Linked DNA regions of Homo sapiens: regions 2 and 3 are each linked to region 1. Evidence: promoter capture Hi-C in 16 types of primary human blood cells and fetal thymus (Javierre and others, 2016). All regions are on one chromosome and are shown on one strand. Each heading gives the region's core, a stretch centred on a gene start or on the middle of the fragment in contact. The rest is flanking DNA. Distances are from core to core; before and after follow the strand shown.

Evidence for each region. Contacts are between HindIII fragments. The CHiCAGO score rates a contact against its expected background, and 5 or more counts as called.
Region 2: a fragment that was not itself captured here is called in contact with the fragment with the promoter of TBK1 in region 1 in 5 of 17 cell types (activated CD4 T cells, total CD4 T cells, non-activated CD4 T cells and 2 more); the score reaches 9.7 in activated CD4 T cells.
Region 3: a contact is called between a fragment that was not itself captured here and the fragment with the promoter of TBK1 in region 1, in 1 of 17 cell types (non-activated CD4 T cells). The highest score is 5.2, in non-activated CD4 T cells.

The regions. Positions count from the first base shown.
Region 1 is chr12:64,450,372-64,453,616 of GRCh38, reverse strand. It overlaps TBK1 (TANK binding kinase 1), which reads right to left and starts at 1,497. Exons shown (of 21, transcript NM_013254.4): 1 at 1,430-1,497. It overlaps XPOT (exportin for tRNA), which reads right to left. Exons shown (of 25, transcript NM_007235.6): 25 at 2,492-3,245. RefSeq lists a silencer at 1,157-1,626. The HindIII fragment of the contact is 9,573 bases long and covers 1-2,959 here.
Region 2 is chr12:64,682,925-64,686,169 of GRCh38, reverse strand. RASSF3 (Ras association domain family member 3) reads right to left here. Exons shown (of 5, transcript NM_178169.4): 2 at 1,276-1,383. Among named protein-coding and RNA genes, the nearest start is that of MIR548Z, 62 kb to the right of the region's middle. The HindIII fragment of the contact is 6,808 bases long and covers 1-3,245 here.
Region 3 is chr12:64,591,041-64,594,285 of GRCh38, reverse strand. It overlaps a transcript of RASSF3 not described here. Among named protein-coding and RNA genes, the nearest start is that of RASSF3-DT, 17 kb to the left of the region's middle. The HindIII fragment of the contact is 6,136 bases long and covers 1-3,245 here.

The sequences.
Region 1 (3,245 bases), core at 248-2,747:
ATATCCCCAAGCTGGGTTAGGAAAATGCAGAATGGTCAGGGGTCTCAATTTTACCAATCACTGATATAGTAGGATATTTTTATATAATTTTACTACCCATCTAATTTAGATAAACTTTATATACGACTATAGGAAATAAGCAATAAAAATAAGATTCCCTTTTCACAAATAAGGAATACACATTTGCCAGTCATTACATTTCACTCACGATACAATAACAAACGTCTCAACTATCTAACGAAAAACCTTCCCTAATCAATGTAACTGTAAATGGCAAATAGTACCATTAGGTACCTATATGTATGTACCTTCAGGATAATAAGAAAAATATTTATCAGCTAAGATATCTGTTCTCTATGCAAATACAAAACTATGGTTTCTATTTAACAGTAATCACAATAGTGGTCAGGGGAAATGTCTTTTGAAATTATCTTCCAATAACTCCACAATAACATGTTAAAACATGACTCAGCACACCCACAACGTGCTTGCCATATAAATCTTCCCAAATTTTTGACAAGCATATAAGCAGACACTCAACAACTATGTTGCTGATGATGCCGTCTTCAGCCTACTTCCTTACACCGTCCAAAACGAAAGTTACTATTTGTTGAGGGATGAAAACAGGTTTGACGACATGGCCTATGGACAAAGTTCCAGGATTTCTAAACTCTGCCCCTATGTGATTCATACACTGGGGTTTCAGAGTGGAAAAGACCAGTCTTTGGTTATACATTTGGCAATTACTTGGGAGTTGTTTTGAGGCCACCTACTAAGAATACTTGGGATAGAGATTACAAATTAAACCCATAAGCCAGGTAGACGAGGAGCAAGGAAATGTCTGGGAATTCGTATTTCATCGGCATATATTTAAAACATCTTATGCTTCTAATTTCCGGTGTGAGTCAACCTCTGCGGACTGAACATCACTAAAACTCTAAGGAAACGTCTCTTTTTAATCCTCTGAAAAATCAATACATTTAAAAACTGCCCGTTGTGTCGACGCTCGGAAAGAGGGTAGAAAACAGCGAGTCTAAGGGAAAGAGGTGCCCCTGCCTCCCCAGGCAGCCAGGGCCCAGGCCCGGTAACGGAGTCGTCCTCTTTATGCCCAAAGCCGCCGGACGGGATGCAGGTCGAGGACCGGCCGCGCGGCGCGGAGCGGGGATGCAGGTAACAGGGCCCGCGCGACCATTCCACCGGCTACGGCCACCCGACACACACCCCAGAGGCAGTGTCCACGCAGCCGGGGTCCTGGATGGCTTGGCCTCGGGTCGTCCGGGGCTTCTCGGTGCGCCCGCCCCCGCCCCCGCTCTGACTCAGCATCCCAGCCTCCCACAGGGGGCGGGAGCGCTCCCCGCCGGGCGGCGCAGGCCTGACCGACCGCGCCCCGCGCCGCCTTGGCCCCTCAGCCCGCGGCCGTCTCACTTACCCAGCCGGGTCTCCGCCGCGCCACCGCCGGCGGGCTCCCGCGGCCTCCTCGAGACTCAGGACACTTCCGGCTTCGCAAGCCCTGGCCGGAGGCCACGTGACCGACGGCCGGCGCGCCGGTGCGGGTGCGCGTGCGCACGCCTATGGCCCGTCTGGTAGTCACCACAGCCGCGGCGGCAACTGCCGAGTCGGCTTCCGCGGCCACGGTAATGAGGGGGATGTCTGGAGACACCCCGTCCACTGTTGCCCTCGCCCTTTACTCTAAAGGGGAATGAGGAGCCCTGAGCAGCGAACACAGTAATTGGGATTCCCGCAACTGCAAATCCCGCCCCTTCCCCGAGCGCTGGCCGACAGTAGGGCGGACCGACGCTGAGCAAGGGATTACATCCCAAGATTTACAGGTGTGCAGAACGTGGGACACGTGGGGGGCAGGCACAGACGGCCGGCAGAGCTGGGAGGGATGGATTCTATGTTTTAAGGGCCCACTTTGGCTGCAGTGGAGCCAGATTATCGTCTCGCAGTAATTCAGACTTTACATTGTTTTTTTCATTTTCCCATCACCCAGAAATACATTAAATTCTTAATGTAAAAATGTTCATTTAATTCCCTCTCGGTATTTTGGAAAACGGCCGTATTGGAGTATCTAACTCTAAACTTAAGAATTTAAGAACTAAAACTTAAATACTAAAATTAGGTCCTGCAATATTCGTGCAGTCAAAATCTCAAGCCGCTATTCCCAATAAGGAATAGCTTTCTGAAGGGGTCCCTTCTGCCCACGGACAGCACAACAGGCCTTTCTCAACATGAGGGAGCAGAGACCGCTGCTAATCTAGGGCTAAATTTCTGAGTGGAGGGGAAGAGGAAGATGGTGTTTCCCAGAGTAGCAGCAGCAAACACGAATGAATGGGAAGTCATGCGGAGTGGCTCAGAGGCTTTTGAATGTAACAGACCTAGGGTTGCTGTCTCGGCTGCCAATTACTGACTTAAAAGCTAATCTCTTACCTCTCTAAGCCTCAGTTTTATCAAATGCACAATGGAGATAACAAAAGTCCACTCTAATGAATTCTTACAAAGCAAGTTACTTTATTAGCATTTTAAACAATGTATAAGTGATGGAATCATTCTAACAACACATCTATTCACTGCTTACAATTCCAACTAATTTCAGTTCTTTGATATCTAATGACAAGAGCGAAGACCTGTTAAAGTTCCTTCCACCAGTAAAACTCACAGCTCAAAGTTGTGGGAGTGATTAACTGAGCCACAGGCCTTCATTCACATGTTTACCACATTAAAATACCACACAGTGTTTTCTTATAAGGTCAACCAACTGGGAAGCAATTAACATTAGCATTAAGATTTAAACTGTTAGGCACAGGGCTAAATCAGGCATTATATGAAAACTTGTGGTTCCCTAGTCAAGTCAAACAAATCCCCAAATATTTCAGCTTGTAACAGTTTTGTCCTTCCTCTCTTGAGACAATTATTTGAGTACTTGCTTTTGGAAATAAGGTAATTCATGATGGAAGCTTCCTAGCTGTGATGGTGCTCTAGGCAACTTCAGAGAATGAAGATAGAAGTTATGCATGATTATATAACATGAAGAGTTTAATTTTTATTACACACTCAATTTCCATGCCCTGATTTCTCTTAGCTCTATAAACACATGTAAATCTTCTGCAGAGCTTTAAAGAGCTCTGAAAGGGAAAACACCTTTCCATATATGGAATTGATAGCATAGTAAGGCCGTGTGCAGTGGCTTATACCTGTAATCCCAACATTGTGAGGCCAGTGGGAGGATTGCTTGAGGCCGGGAG
Region 2 (3,245 bases), core at 476-2,975, 230 kb before region 1:
TTTCTCCTTTGATGAAAAAATGTGTTTGAAAAAGAAATCTTGCTGCTGGAATGATGAAGAGTTATCTTGGGATTCTCTGCTCCTCTCCCCTCTTTTTGGAGGAGTTCTACCAGGGAGGGGTCCTTTACCACAAGGGTTTCTATCTGAAAGCTCCTCCCCAAGAATCACCGATTCGGTAGGGCCTGTTTTAAACCAATCACCTTGTCCTTTACCAAACTCTGTCAGTTCACAGTAAACAGACTGAGAGACGGGGATCCAAGTGCCCTGGAAACTGGCGCCAAGGGCTGACAAGTGCCATGAAGAAGGCGGGCCACCCAATGGGTAGGCGAGACCTAGATGCCAGCTAAGTTTAGAGGAACATGAATACTCTAGCTCCGCTGTCAGCTCGTTTCCCTATCCCCAGGCCCTGAGGCTTCTCCCTCCTGTACGCCGACTCCCTGCATGCTTCAGTGTGGCACAATGCTGTGGAAGCCTGCGACAGCGACGTGGAAGAAACTGAGTATTAAGTACCTTGTCTTACACTAACGACCGGCAGAGAAAACTATCCTATTATATACCTCTATATTCCAATCCATGGGCTCAAAATCCTTTCCCTGACACTTCCATATTTATTTTGTACAAGACAAAAACTTAGGGGCTTCTGATACCTGTAATCCCAGCACTTTGGGAGGCCAAGCTGGGCAGATCCCTTGAGCCAAGGAATTTGAGATGAGCCTGGGTGATATGGCAAAACCCCGTCTCTACAAAAAATACAAAAATTAGCTGGGCATGGTGGCAAGCACCTGTGGTCCCAGCTACTCGGGAGGCTGAGGTGGGAGGATTACTTGAGCCCGGAGGTCGAGGCTGCAGTGAGCGGTGATCGTGCCACTGCTCTCCAGCCCAGGTGACAGAGCAAAACCTTGTTTCAAAACAAAACAAAACAAAAAACCTTACCTGAGGTCTTCTTAGAATCTGAGTCACCATTTCTGTATGTTAGGCAATGATGCTAAAAATCCTTTGAGGAGGGAGGGGTGGGTCACAAAATCTTTTAAAATAAAATTATAAGTGTTTCACTTTTTTAAGGTTAACCCAGCAACTGATTTTTGAGACAAAGCTACTTCACAATACAGATTTAAATGGAAAGCCACAGAAATATTCCACTTTCCTGTTCTGTATACCTTGACTACTACACTTCTACAAATGCTATTCAGATATTTAGAACTATAGATTGTAGTACCAACAATTTATATTTGTCTTTTGACAGGTGTCAACCTAAATAGTATTTTGAGTGCTTACCAAGGTCATCTTCAACTTGTCTGTGACTGCTAAGTTGTATTTATGAACTTTCTCTTTGATCTCCTCTTTGCTGAGGTAACTGTGGGTTTCCTTCTCTTTCTCAACATCCTAGAAGAAAAACAAGACATGTCACATGTGAGCAATCATAAAAAAAAGTGCGGATAGGCCGGGCGCAGTGGCTCACGCCTGTAATCCCAGCACTTTGGGAGGCTGAGGTGGGCGGATCACCTGAGGTTGGGAGTTCAATACCACCCTGACCAAAATGGAGAAACCCTGTCTCTACTAAAATTACGAAATTAGCTGGGCATGGTGGCGCACGCTTGTAAACCCAGCTACTTGGGAGGCTGAGGCAGGAGAATCACTTTGAACGTGAGAGGCAGAGGTTGTGGTAAGCTGAGATCACGCCATTGCACTCCAGCCTGGGCAACAAGAGCAAAACTCTGTCTCAAAAAAAAAAAACAAACAAACAAACAAACAGATAAGTCAGGATTTTTTAAAAATTCCACACAAGGGCCGGGCACGGTGGTGGAAGCCTGCAATCCCAGGACTTTGAGAGGCCAAGGACGGCAGAGCTTAAGCCCTGGAGATTGTGACCAGGCTGGGCAACATGAGGAAACTCTATCTCTACAAAAAATACAAAAATTAGCTGGGCACAGTGGTGCACACCTGTAGTCGCAGCTAGTTAGGAGGCTGAGGTGGGAGCATCACCTCAGCCCAGAGGTCGAGGCTGTAGTGAGCCATAATTATGCCACTATGCTCTAGCCTGGGTGACAGAGTGCGACCCTGTCTCAAAAAAAAAAAAAAAAAAATTACAACCACACAAGAAGAACCTTATTGTTCTTGCATGTTACCTTGAAACACACACACACACACACACACACTCACTCTCTCTCTCTCTCTCTCTCCTTCTCTCCCTCGCTGCTTCTCTTTCTCTCTTACCTTCAAACTCTCCAGGCTCATCCACCAATTACGGTTCTCATTCTTTCATACTACAGTCTTCCTAGGGGATATATTTTTTAAGAAAACTAATTTGTCAGCAGCTACAAGTAACACTTCATTACCAATATATTCTGCAAAACTGTCATTGCTAAATTTCCCTTCTGCAAAAACATCATTTCCTCAGCATGCCTGCTAGATTGGCCATTTCTATTTTAAACAACATTTAAAGACATTTACCACAAGTTTCTCTTTAGCAACTTGTATTAACTCTGTTGTCTTTATAGCTTTACAATATTTATTGGCAAAAAGTACAGCAGTTAATCAGTATTAACTGGCACTATTCACGGACTCATACTAATCACTGACCTGTAAACTGTACACAACTACCAGAGGATAATTCATCTTCCAAACAAATCCCCAGGCCAAGATACAAGTAGCCAGACTTCTCCTTCCCACCCTTCCAGTCTCACCCACTTCTCTACCTCCCCACACTCTAGAGGGAGAAATATCGGTTAAATCCTCTTCTCACTGTGAAGAATTTACCAATAATTAGCTGTCTAAAGAGTCCCACCAGTGCATGACATTATGCAGTAGCAGACATGATCACAAATGACCAAATGACAGCATTTTGTCACCCTGATGAAGTATACCAGGCACCAAACTTGTATTGCCTTTACTTCTCCCAACAACCTAATCAAGGAGGCATTATTATGCCAGTTTCAGTAAATTAAACTGCTGAAAAAAAATGTGGAAGCAAATGAAAGCCTGCTAATCCTCCCTAACTCCAACCTTTACTGGGAGCTCTAAGTAATTCCACAGGGGTGTTCTCATTTAATCCTCCCAACAATGAGCTAATTAATGCTAATTAGCACCCCTACGTTACAGATAAGGACAGAAGATTTACAGAGGTCAAGCAGTTTGTCCAAGGACAACCCAACTAGTTGAGAGACCAAGTTCCACTTTAATCCAGGTCTTCTAGGGTGCTCCCACTAAATCCAATCAGTCCCCAAAGGTCTGGTGTGGGTAAACAT
Region 3 (3,245 bases), core at 413-2,912, 140 kb before region 1:
CATAGCTCACTGCAGCCTTGACCTCCTGGGCTCAAGCAATCCTTCCACCTCAGCTTCCTGAGTAGCTGGGACTACAGGTGCATTCCACCATGCCTGGCTAATTTTTAAAATTTTTTGTAGAGATGGGGTCTCACTACGTTGCCCAGGCTGGTTTTGAACTCCTGGGCTTGAACAATCCTCCCACCTTGGCCTCCCAAAGTGTTATGATCACAGGTGTGAGCTACCACGCCCAGCCATGGCCCTCCCCTGCTTTTTTTTTTTTTTTTTTTTTTTTGAGACAGAGTCTCACCCTGTCGCCCAGGCTGGAGTGCTGTAGTGTGATCTAGGCTCACTGCAACTTCTGTCTCCTGGGTTCAAGTGATTCTCCTGCCTCAGCCTCCTGAGTAGCTGGGATTACAGGCACCTGACACCACACCTGACTAATTTTTGTATTTTTAGTAGAGATGGGCTTTCACCATGTTGGCCAGGCTGGTCTTGAACTCCTGACCTCAGGTGATCCGCCTGCTTGCCCCATGACCCTTCAAATAAAAAGGAGCAATCCTATTCAGCTTTGCTACAGGATTTCAAAATTTTACCTTAGAGGTTCCTTTAACAGAAAGAAGTTAATTTATACTAGTTATAATAATGTGTCCTCATATCCCCAGCTAGAATATACATTAGGCCTATATAATCTGTTTGTTTAAAACACAGAAGAGAATTATGAGATATTTGTTGAAAGAACCTGTTTACATTAAGTCATGGATGTAGCAGCTAAAAAAACACAACTTCAGCCAGGCACAGCTCATGCCTGTAATCCCAGCACTTTGGGAGGCTGAGGTGGGCAGATAATTTCAGGCCAGGAGTTCAAGACCAGCTGGGCAACATGGCAAAACCCTGTCTCTACTAAAAATACAAAAATTAGCCAGGCATGGTGTTATGTATCTATAGTCCCAGCTACTTGGGAGGCTGAGGCAGGAGAATTGCTTGAACCCCAGAAGCGGAGGTTGCAGTGAGCTGAGATAGCTCTACTGCACTCCAGTCTGGGTAACAGAGTGTGAGACTCTGTCTCCAAAACAAAGCACAACTTCATGGCAAAATAGAATGCAATAAGCAGAGTCCAAAGGCAAATGACAGGAACTAATCTTGATTGTGGTCATGGTGGGTTACACAATTATATACATATACTTCTTGCACTGTGCTCTAAAATGTGTGAATGTAATGTGTTTGTAAATTATACTTCTACCTTGATTTTTTTAATGAGGTAATTCTAATTAACAAATGAGGAAAAGGTACTTGCAAATTTTTTCATAAACAGCAAATATCTATAATCTGTAGAACATTCCCAAACATCGAGAAGAGCAAACGCCAGTCATGCACAGTGGCTCATGCCTGTAATCTCACTACTTTGGGAGGAGGAAGGAGGATCACTTGAAGCCAGGAGTTCAAGACTGGCAAGACCTTGTCTCTACAAAAAAATAAAAATAAAATAAAATAAAATAAAAATTAGCCAGGCATCTTGGCATGCACCTGTAGTCCTAGTTATTTGAAAGGCTAAGGCAGGAGAATCCCTTGAGCCCAGGAGTTCAAGGCTGCAGTGAGCTATGATTGTACCACTGTACATCAGCCTGGGCAACAGAGCAAGACCCTATCTCAAAACAGAAAAAACTTGGTAAAAATACAAAAGTTAGACAACTTCCTTACTGAGGTTGCAGAAAAACAGGCATTCTCACATACGGTTGTTTGGAATGCAAAATGGTACAATTGCAAGACAGGCTAATCCCATAGTATCCAGCAAAATTACATATGCATTTCCTCTTGTAGGAAACAATATCAAAGACACACTGAAAAAAAATATAAATGCCTCATGGTCAAAGTTAAGACTGTACCATTATTTATAGTAACAAAAAAAGGAAACAACCTAAATATCCATCAATTAGGCAAATTGGCTAATGGAATATTATGTAGCTATTAAAAAGAAATCAGGACTCTCTCAGTACACTGATATGGAATAACCTCCAGGATAAATCATTTAAAAAGAATAGTGCAGAACAGTGTTCATAGTATGCTGGCTATTTAGAAAATATTTTTTTAAAAGAAGCAACAGAATAGCTGATGTGGTGGCTCATGCCTGTAATCCCAGCACTTTGGGAAACTAAGGTGGGCAAATCACTTGAGCCCAGGAGTTCAAGACCAGCCTGGGCAACATGGTGAAACCTCCTCTTTACAAAAATTACAAAAATTAGCCAGGCATGTGGCATACGCCTGTAGTCCCAGCTACTCAGGAGGCTGAGGTGGGAGGATCTCGTGGGTCTGGGAAGCAGAGGTTGCAATGAGCCAAGATCGTGCCACTGCACTCTAGCCTAGGGGACACAGTAAAACCCTGTCTCAAAAAAAAAAAAACAGCAACCGAAGGAATAATAAAAATTAGTTATTTGTAGGGGGATAGAGGGAAACAGATGAGAACACATAATGGAAGCACAACTGATGTGACTATATCTAGGTTTATAGTTCTGATTTTGAAATTCTATGAATGTTTACATAACTAAAAATCTAAGTTTAACCAAAAGTGGGAAAAAGCAACTCCTAAATTGAAAACAAAATAAATGAACCTACTGAATATTTAGAGGCACGCACACAAAAATTGCTCAAAAATAAAAAAGGAAATATATCTTGAAATATGTATTGATGAAATGACATGATGTCTGGGGTTTGCTTGAGTAAAAGGAAGAAAAAAAGAATGGACAAAACAAGTGTGGCAAAATCTTGACAACTGCTAAATGCACATGATTGGTTTGTTATATCATTCTCTCTCAGGTTGACTTTTTTTTTTTAGATGGAGTCTCATGCTGTGGCCCGGGCCTGGAGTGCAGTGGCGGGATCTCGGCTCACTGCAACCTCCGCCTCCCAGGTTCATGCAATTCTCCTGCCTCAGCCTCCTGAGTAGCTGGGATTACTGGTGCACACCACCACATCTGGCTAATTTTTTGTATTTTTAGTAGAGATGGCGTTTCACTATGTTGGCCAGACTGGTCTCAAACTCCTGACCTCGTGATCCGCCTGCCTCGGCCTCCCAAAGTGCTGGGATTACAGGTGTGAGCCACTGCGCCCGGCCAGGTTGACTTCTATAATAAGAGGTTTTAAAAGAAGCAGCTGCCCACTTTTAATAACTCCACCAGAACACAATCACCATCCCTCATGTCATTTAACACAAAATCAGGTGGGACCAGAATTAATGTGAAGAAACCTCTTAGCATCCTTTCATCTTC